3 separate regions of the Homo sapiens genome follow, and all the other regions are linked to region 1. The links are contacts of gene promoters, found by promoter capture Hi-C in human tissues and cell types (Jung and others, 2019). All regions are on one chromosome and are shown on one strand. The core of a region is centred on a gene start or on the middle of the fragment in contact, and the rest is flanking DNA. Distances in the headings are between cores, read along the strand shown. Region 1 holds the start of RSPO3 (R-spondin 3). Region 2 has its middle 160 kb from the start of MIR588. Region 3 has its middle 280 kb from the start of MIR588.

Evidence for each region. Contacts are between HindIII fragments. The study calls those that stand out against the background at their distance.
Region 2: a fragment that was not itself captured here is called in contact with the fragment with the promoter of RSPO3 in region 1 in 1 of the 25 tissues and cell types used here (H1 embryonic stem cells).
Region 3: a contact is called between a fragment that was not itself captured here and the fragment with the promoter of RSPO3 in region 1, in 3 of the 25 tissues and cell types used here (H1 embryonic stem cells, heart left ventricle and mesendoderm cells).

Annotation. Positions count from the first base shown.
Region 1 is chr6:127,117,374-127,119,973 of GRCh38, reverse strand. RSPO3 (R-spondin 3) reads right to left here and starts at 1,303. Exons shown (of 5, transcript NM_032784.5): 1 at 685-1,303. The coding sequence starts at 781. LOC105377989 (a long non-coding RNA gene) reads left to right here. Exons shown (of 14, transcript XR_002956387.2): 4 at 1-1,073. The HindIII fragment of the contact is 6,946 bases long and covers 1-2,600 here.
Region 2 is chr6:126,644,513-126,647,112 of GRCh38, reverse strand. No RefSeq gene overlaps it. Among named protein-coding and RNA genes, the nearest start is that of MIR588, 160 kb to the right of the region's middle. The HindIII fragment of the contact is 4,575 bases long and covers 1-2,600 here.
Region 3 is chr6:126,766,155-126,768,754 of GRCh38, reverse strand. No RefSeq gene overlaps it. Among named protein-coding and RNA genes, the nearest start is that of MIR588, 280 kb to the right of the region's middle. The HindIII fragment of the contact is 3,072 bases long and covers 1-2,600 here.

The sequences.
Region 1 (2,600 bases), core at 54-2,553:
CGCACCTCCGGCTCCCCACAGCTGGGGTTTTGCTGTCTTCAACCCTCGGGCGGGGGACGTCCGGCAGCTCTGCAAACGCGCAGACACGCGAACCCCATCGCCTCGCGCGCCCTTTGGCTCCGCTGGTGCGTGTCGGGGATGCGGCCGCGCAGGCGCTCGCTCCCTGGCTTCCTGGCCGGGTAGCGGGCGTTCGGCTACCGGAGTCCAGCCTAAGGGCCCAGCCGAGGTCTCCCCGCGCGAGGCGGTTGCGCTAGGTGAGCGGGTACCGCGGCCGCGCCTCCCTTGTCATTTACTCAGCGGTCAGAGGCATCCTGCGTCTGGGAGTCCCAAGTGCCTTCGGCTGGGTGCCCCTGTCCGATCCTCAAAAGGAAAGCACAAATCCCGGGTGCGAGTCTAACCCAGGACCGAACTTTCCCGCGAACCTGAAGTTACCATGGGGCGGGAGCCACCTTAGCGCCGCGTCCGCCCGCCCCTCGCACCGGCTAGGATGCTGCGGAAGGCAGGGGCGCCGAGAGGCAAGGGTGAAAGACGCCGTCCATACCCCCAAAGCCCGAACCTGCATCTCCTCTGCGAGGCGCAGGGCGGGAGGACCGCTGCAGTTGGGAGCCGGCTCCGGACAGGCAAAGCGACCCGACAGGTGAACGCGGCGGGAGGGAGCAAACGCGTAAAAAACCCTGCACTTACTTCTTCGCTGGCGCCTTCCCCGGGAGGCGTTTTGGCTGCCGATGTATTCCATAAAGTTCAAAATGATAAAAAGCCAAGAAATCAGTCGCAAGTGCATAGTAACCCAGTAATGCTTCCCTTCCTTTCTCCTCTTTCTTTTGATTGTTAATTATATTTAATGTTTTTAAAATATATGTAGGTGTTAGGCGTATATAGACAGTGCCCGAGCAGCGGGACTTCTCCTCTCACATCCGATAGGCGTGCTGTGATGGCAAGCGAAGTGGGGCGGGTGGACAGGGAAACCAACTATTGTACTTTCAAATTATCCAAGCACTGAACTGCGGCGGCTTCGCTGGGGTGGCTGGCATCGCCGCGAACCGGGGTTCCAGGAGCCGCCGGGGCGGCCGCAGGTAGCATGTTGTGCGGCAACTGCCGCAGGCGGGATCCGGGCGGGCGAGCGGCGGCGGCGGCGGCTGCAGCGGCGGCCCCTTGGGCTCAGAAGCTGCGGCGGCTGCGGCTGCAGCGGCGGGGGCCCCTGGAGCGCAGGGGAGCGGGCGCCGTCGGCACAGCGGCCATGGCCAAGGGGCGGCGGAGAGACCCCGAGCTGCTTCTGGCGTGCGCGAGCAGGAGACGCTCCAGTGTTGGGCTGGGCTCCCGGGAGCACCACATAGGGGAGGAGGAGGAGGAGGGCAGGGAGGGGGGAGGGAGAGGAGGGCAGGGAGGGGGAGAGGAGGGGGGATGGCTGTGGGGGGCGGGGGGGAGCTCGGGGGCGGGGAAGGAAACTGCTGGAGCAACAACCCTGAGCGACCTCAATAACTTTCAATTTCAAGAGGGAAAGAGGGAGCTGGAAAAGTACAGGCGTTGCGCTTTGGCAGAGGGACGGGAAGAGGCGCCTAAGGGGTCCCGGGTCTACAGCGCAGCATCTCTGGACACTGCAGTGACGGCCGGAGAATTCCAGCCAGAAGAATGGGGAAAGCAGTGCGTGCGAAGAGCCCCTCCAGAAGGGCAGCTCTGGCGGGGAGACTTGGGCGCACTGGGGCTGGCAGGCAGTGTTGAGGCCGAAGACCCCCCACCCATCCCAGTTCGGCTCCTCTCCGCGGCCTCAAGCTAGGCGCACCCGGCTGTCGGTGGCCGTGCGCCCCTGCGCCCTTGTGCCCCAGCGCCCCCACCCCATCCCCAGCGCCGGCGCGCAACTACCCTCTCCCCCTTGGCAGATCGCTGGAGAGTTTCTGGCTGCTGACTTGTTCCCGGCTTTCCTGACCTTCTCCTCTGTTGCCTTTCTCCCTTTTTCTTTTTCTCTCTCTTTCTTTCTTTCTTTCTTTCTTTCTTTCTTTCTTTCTTTCTTTCTTTCTTTCTTTCTTTCTTTCTTTCTTTCTCTTTCTTTCTTTTCTTTCTTTCTTCCTTCCTCTTTCTTTGTCTTTCTTTCTTTCTTTCCTTCCTTCCTTCCTTCCTTCCTTCCTTCCTTCCTTCCTTCTTCTTTCTTTCTTTCTTTCCTTTCTTTCTTTCTTTTCGGCTGCAGTTGGTCGCCAGGCGGGTGGTGGGGAGGAAACTCTGTGGGTGCTGCCGGTCAGCTACTCTGAGGTTTACCTGCTCCGAGCGGGGAGGACCCAGAAGTGTGTGCGCTCAGGACCTTCCCGTTGGAAATGCAGCTGTGCTACGGCTTTCTTCCAAACCAAGGCTTTTCTGTGGCTTTGGAAGATTCCTTTCCCGCTCAGGCAATTCCCTCTATAGTCAGCTCGCCCCCCTTGGAGTTTTCTCTCCCACCCTCGGTCTCCCAGTGTTCTTGAGAGGATCTGTTGTACATTCTAATCTCGCATCTGGAAGACTGGGAATAAGATTTGGAAAGATTTTCCCAGTCTTGGGGAAGGAAGGGGAAGGTCCACTACTTTCTTATCTTCCCAGCCCAAGTGGAGGCCCAAGGCAGCAGAGAGTAAGAT
Region 2 (2,600 bases), core at 44-2,543, 470 kb after region 1:
GTCTATTAGGATATTAGACACAGATAAACTGGAAGACAGATGGAGAAAATTATTTAGAATGTAACACAAAGAGTTATCCATGTGAAAATATGAGAAGTTACAATTTAAAAAGAATATAATAAGAAAGTCAATATATTTCTAATTTGAGAACAAGAAAATGAGGCTTGTGAGTTGCAGGAGGCAATATTCACAAAGCTAATGGCAGAATTTTCAGAATCGAAAAATAATTTCTCAGATTGAGTCCAATTATTCTCAAACATAATAAGTAAAAGTAAACCCAAATTATATGTCATCCTAAATTATACAGCAATAGCAAATTATTCAAAAATATTAGTAGTTTACAACAACGAAGGTATATTTCTTGTTCATGTTACATGCCCATTATATTTCGGCTGTGCCTCAGGCTCATGTCTGCACTCCAGAATCCAAACTATTGGGCAGCTCTTCTCTGGGACATTGCTGGTCTTGTCGCAGAGGTAAATGAGAATAGAGTGAAAACCATGTAATATCTCTTAAAGCTTGTGCTTGAACATGACACATGTTACTTCTGCTCCCATTTCACTAGTTAAAACAAATTGGATGGCCAATATTAATATCATTGGGATAAGGTTGTATAATATTTAACATTAATATAATCTGCCATATTCTCACTTATATTGTATTAATCAACATCCAGGTGGGAAACAGAAATACCCTAGGTGTTTCAATTAGAAGAGTATAATATAGAGAATTATTTACAATGTGTTAGAAGAGCTAAAGGAGCAAAAGATAACACTTAGGTCTTACCTAAGTGTTGCTGTTGTTGTTGTGCTGTTGGAACCATTAGTACAACCATATTGTAAGAAGCCAACAGCTCCTACTCCTGAGGACACTAAAAAATCTGGGAGCCCACATTCCCATTGTTGTTGCCGCCACATCCACGCTACAAGTGTTGCCTGCTACTGGTACTGCTAGAGACTGACTGCTGAGGTTGCTGGGCAGCAGCAGTTTCCATTATTGAAACCAAAAAACCTGAGCTGCTGAGGTGGGTGGAGTGCTGCTGCTGCCACTGTCAGGATAAGAAACAGAAGAAAGAAAATCAAAGACAAGGAAGATATAATAAAAGCAATCAGAAAAAAGACACACAAAAGAACAATTAGATGAGAGCAGATTTCTTAGAACTACAACAGAAGTCAGAAGACGATGCAGTAACATCTTCAAAGAGCTGAGGGAATATATATCTTAAGTTAGAATTCTACATAATCTTATTCAAATGTGAAGCTTAAATAAATATATTAACAAGCAAAGATCAAAATAGATCAAGTTTTGCAGACCTAACTGAAGGAACATTTATTAAATTTCAGTAAGAAGACAGTAAAATAAGAAAGAAGATTACAAAAATAAACTTGTAAAAATATTGGGAAATCTAAACATGTTTTGATTATAAATATAACAGTAACAGTCACTAATTTGAACAGTATAAATAAATTGAATCTAAAATATCAGGCTTTATATTTGGGAGATAGGAAAGAATGATGAGGGTGACTGAGACAAAAGCATTCTTTTATATTATTTATTTAGAAGGGTAGAGATATATCAAGTAGTTTTAGCCCATTGTAAAGACAATTGTTTTCTAAAAATTGAAGAATAACAACTGAAGGATCAAAAATGAATGTACGATTTCAAAATCAAAAGAAGAAAGGTGGGTGGGATAACCATCTACTAGAAATTAAGAGAGAAAAATATATATATATTTTGTATTTGACTCCATTTATAACCCAAGTACAGTGACTTAAAATAGATTATTTTCCTCATATAATAGGAAGACAAGAGAAAGCTGTTAAGTTCTGTCCCATGGCTATCAATGTCTCTGCTATTCTTTTGGTTACAAGATAGCTGTTACAGCTATAGCCAGAACGTCTGCATTCCAGTAGGAAGAAAGAGAAAGGAAAAGCTATGACATTGTACCAGAAGAGCAAAAAGTTTCCACAGCAGCCTTCCTTTTATATATTCTTGGCCAAATATCTTTAGAAATATTTCCAGAAAATAGTCATCTTATTTTAAGTGTTTGTCCTTGTTTTACGTTTGATTTTTTAAAAATTCAATGATGGAAGAAACTGGAAGAAAAAAATTTAGAGCAATATCACTAATAAACAGAACTACCACCATGACAATAAAAATAAAACAAACTTTATCAGTAATCACAATAAATATAAATGGATTAAAGTCAGCAATTAAAGGAGATCCTCAGATTAATATAAAAATTTAAAACTATCCGGCTAAATGTCTTTTAACATAACTAACATAGTAAAAGAAAGGCTAAAAGTAAAATGATCAAAACAAGGCAAACGCTAACTGATATAACTCCATTAATATCAAATACAAAAGGTTTTAAGGTAAAAATAATCATGAGATAAAAAGAATTTTTGCATATTTACGAAAGCAAACAATAGAATTAATGATAGAGTTCCCATAAACTTTCAAAATTGTCACAAAATAAAATTTAATTTGCCAAAATCATGAGAAGAAGAAATTCAAAAATTTACTATGACAGTGGAAAATTTTAACACACTTCTCTTAGGAAGTTGTACATAAATCGGAGAAAACATTAGTAAAAAATA
Region 3 (2,600 bases), core at 70-2,569, 350 kb after region 1:
ATGGTTTGATCTCATGATAAAGAAGGAAGTGTTTGGAATTAGCACTTTCTAAGAGATCCAAATGGGAGTAACTATTGTAGAGTTATCATAAAACAAAAGTTCTTAATGTTCCCAAATGGGGCATTCTATTATAGTAAGCTTTAGTATTTGAACTCTCACTACAGAATGTTTTATAAGAAAAATATGTAAATGTGGTAAATTCTGAGTTATTTTCAGAGATGACAAAAGCTTTAAAAAAATGTGTTTTTCCCCCCTGTAAATTCTTCTATTTGTAATTTAAACTCATTTTAGATAAAATATTCGGGGCCAAAAAACCTAGCACTTTTGCTTTGTTAAGCTCATATCTAAGGGATGAGGAGTTGTAAGTAAACCCAATTTTGACGATTATAATATTTAAAATAAGTTTTTGCTATAAAACTCTAATATTATCTGTGGTCATATTTGCTTGTAATTTTAAAGACAGAATCCTCCTGCTTCATGGGTCATTTAGCACCTTCTGCTGTATATTTTGAACTCTAAATATACTGTTCCTTGGAGAGAAGAATTGCATATTGCCAAGGGCAAGTGATGTCTACACCAAAAGGTTTAAGTCAGGGGCAAAAGCCCCAAAATATTTTTCTTTTCAAAGAACAGGTGAAATATACACATTTTTGCCCATCCCTGATTTCTGAATTTGAAATTCAATTTATTCTTCTGAGAGGTTATTGTTTATGCACACTTGGAAAACTCAACTTTCTGTGGAGAGAAAAAGATAAAGACTTGTGATTACAAAACAGTTTGACAACTTGAGTGCAAATGAATCAGAAACATGTGGATTAAATTTCCCTTGAAACACACATGACTTTTTAAAATTAAGAGGAAAAGGGCTTGGCAATAAACACTTTAGTTTTTGCCAGACCTAAAGCATTTGGAAAATAATCCAGATTGTGGTTGGGCTGTCTCCTCCGTAGTCAATTCTCAATTTCTGTACATTGATATTTGAAGTTTCAAGTCACTAATTCAATGTATAGGTTATAAATACTTGAACACATCTATTTTTACTATTTTCACTTCCACATCCTTTTTGAATCAATGGAAATGAAAACAATTGTGTACAAATTGAATCAGGAGAGTGGAGAAGGACTCCTTGGTAGGGAACTGGCATACATTCCCTCCATAAATGACAGCAAGCTTATTTTAATAAATACCAGCATATGAATATGTTATACATCAGGAGAAGCAAATGCATTCAGGAAAGATGCTGCTATATATTTTAGGATAGTCAAGAAAGTAACGGTCCTATAGGTCACTAGAAAACCTGGAAGAAGATGTAATTTCAATCTATCATATATTTTTATACTATGATCAATTTTACTCAATGAAAAAAATACCCTTAGGGATTCAAATTCTCCTCTATATTTACAGAAGAAAAATGATACTAATATTGGGCATTTATCTCTATCATTGTGGAGTATTTTTCCCATCATGCTATAATTCAGACCATATAAAATGTTCTGTTTACAGACAGTTAAATTGCAATATTATATTTTTACATGTCCTACTTGCAGAAGTTTTTGGATTTTCATAGAATAAATATTCAAAAATCTGTTGACTATATAGATATGCAGAAGGAAGGAGGGGAGGAAGGGAAGGAGGAAGGAAGGAAGGGAGGGAGGGAGGGAGGAAGGAAGGAGCAAAGGAAAGGCGAGACGAAGGGAAGGGAGGGAGGGAGAGAGAAGAAGTGAAGAAAAGAAAGAAGAAAGAAAGGCAATTCTTAGATTTTCTTCAAAAGTAGTTTTTAGAGAGTAGGAACAAAAAAAGTATGAAATATCTTTGGGGTATTTAGGAACCAAACTATAATATTAGCAAACTCACAGTACGGCAAAAATAAAACCATTACTCTCTCTGAGTGCTAACTCTGTTCCAGACACTATGGTAAGTGCTTCATATGCATTATCTGTTTTAATGTCCACATGGACTCACAGGAAAAAGAGAATTAATTAACTCACCTAAGGCCTTGTGACCAAATTTGGAGTTCAGTCCTTCTCATTCCAGAGCCGAAGCATTTCATCACTTTGCCTCCTCCCCTAACATGTTCAGCAGTGAGTCCCCTTCAATCCAAGACTAATTTGTTCATTCAAACCCATCATTATCAATTAGGAAACCCCTATCTAAACCACTTAGTGAGGTCAGCAATGTGTCCTTCCTGTGAGTCCAGTAGGATCCCTGAAGTGAATCTTACACACACAGGTCAACTCTCTCTCACAATTTAAATAGGGGCACACTTTCAAATTTGTCAAACTCTTTTTAAATTATTCAAGATATGTTCTAATTTCATAAACGGGCAGCTGTCTTTTAGGATATGCAAACTAATTAAATATGTAGTCTTATATTATGTTAGCATGTAACAGAATCTCTTAACAGAGAGCTTATATTTTTAAAGCCAGGTACATTTAAAAAATCAATTTGCTTAGAAACCTCAAAAAAGTTTATTATTTTCTTATACTAAAGGGTGATATATGTTATTAACCCCCAATCAGAAGATAACAGGAAATATAAATATAATTTTATTTAACTAATTTGATCAGGTCAATAAGCTTCAAATGTATCTACAAATCAGT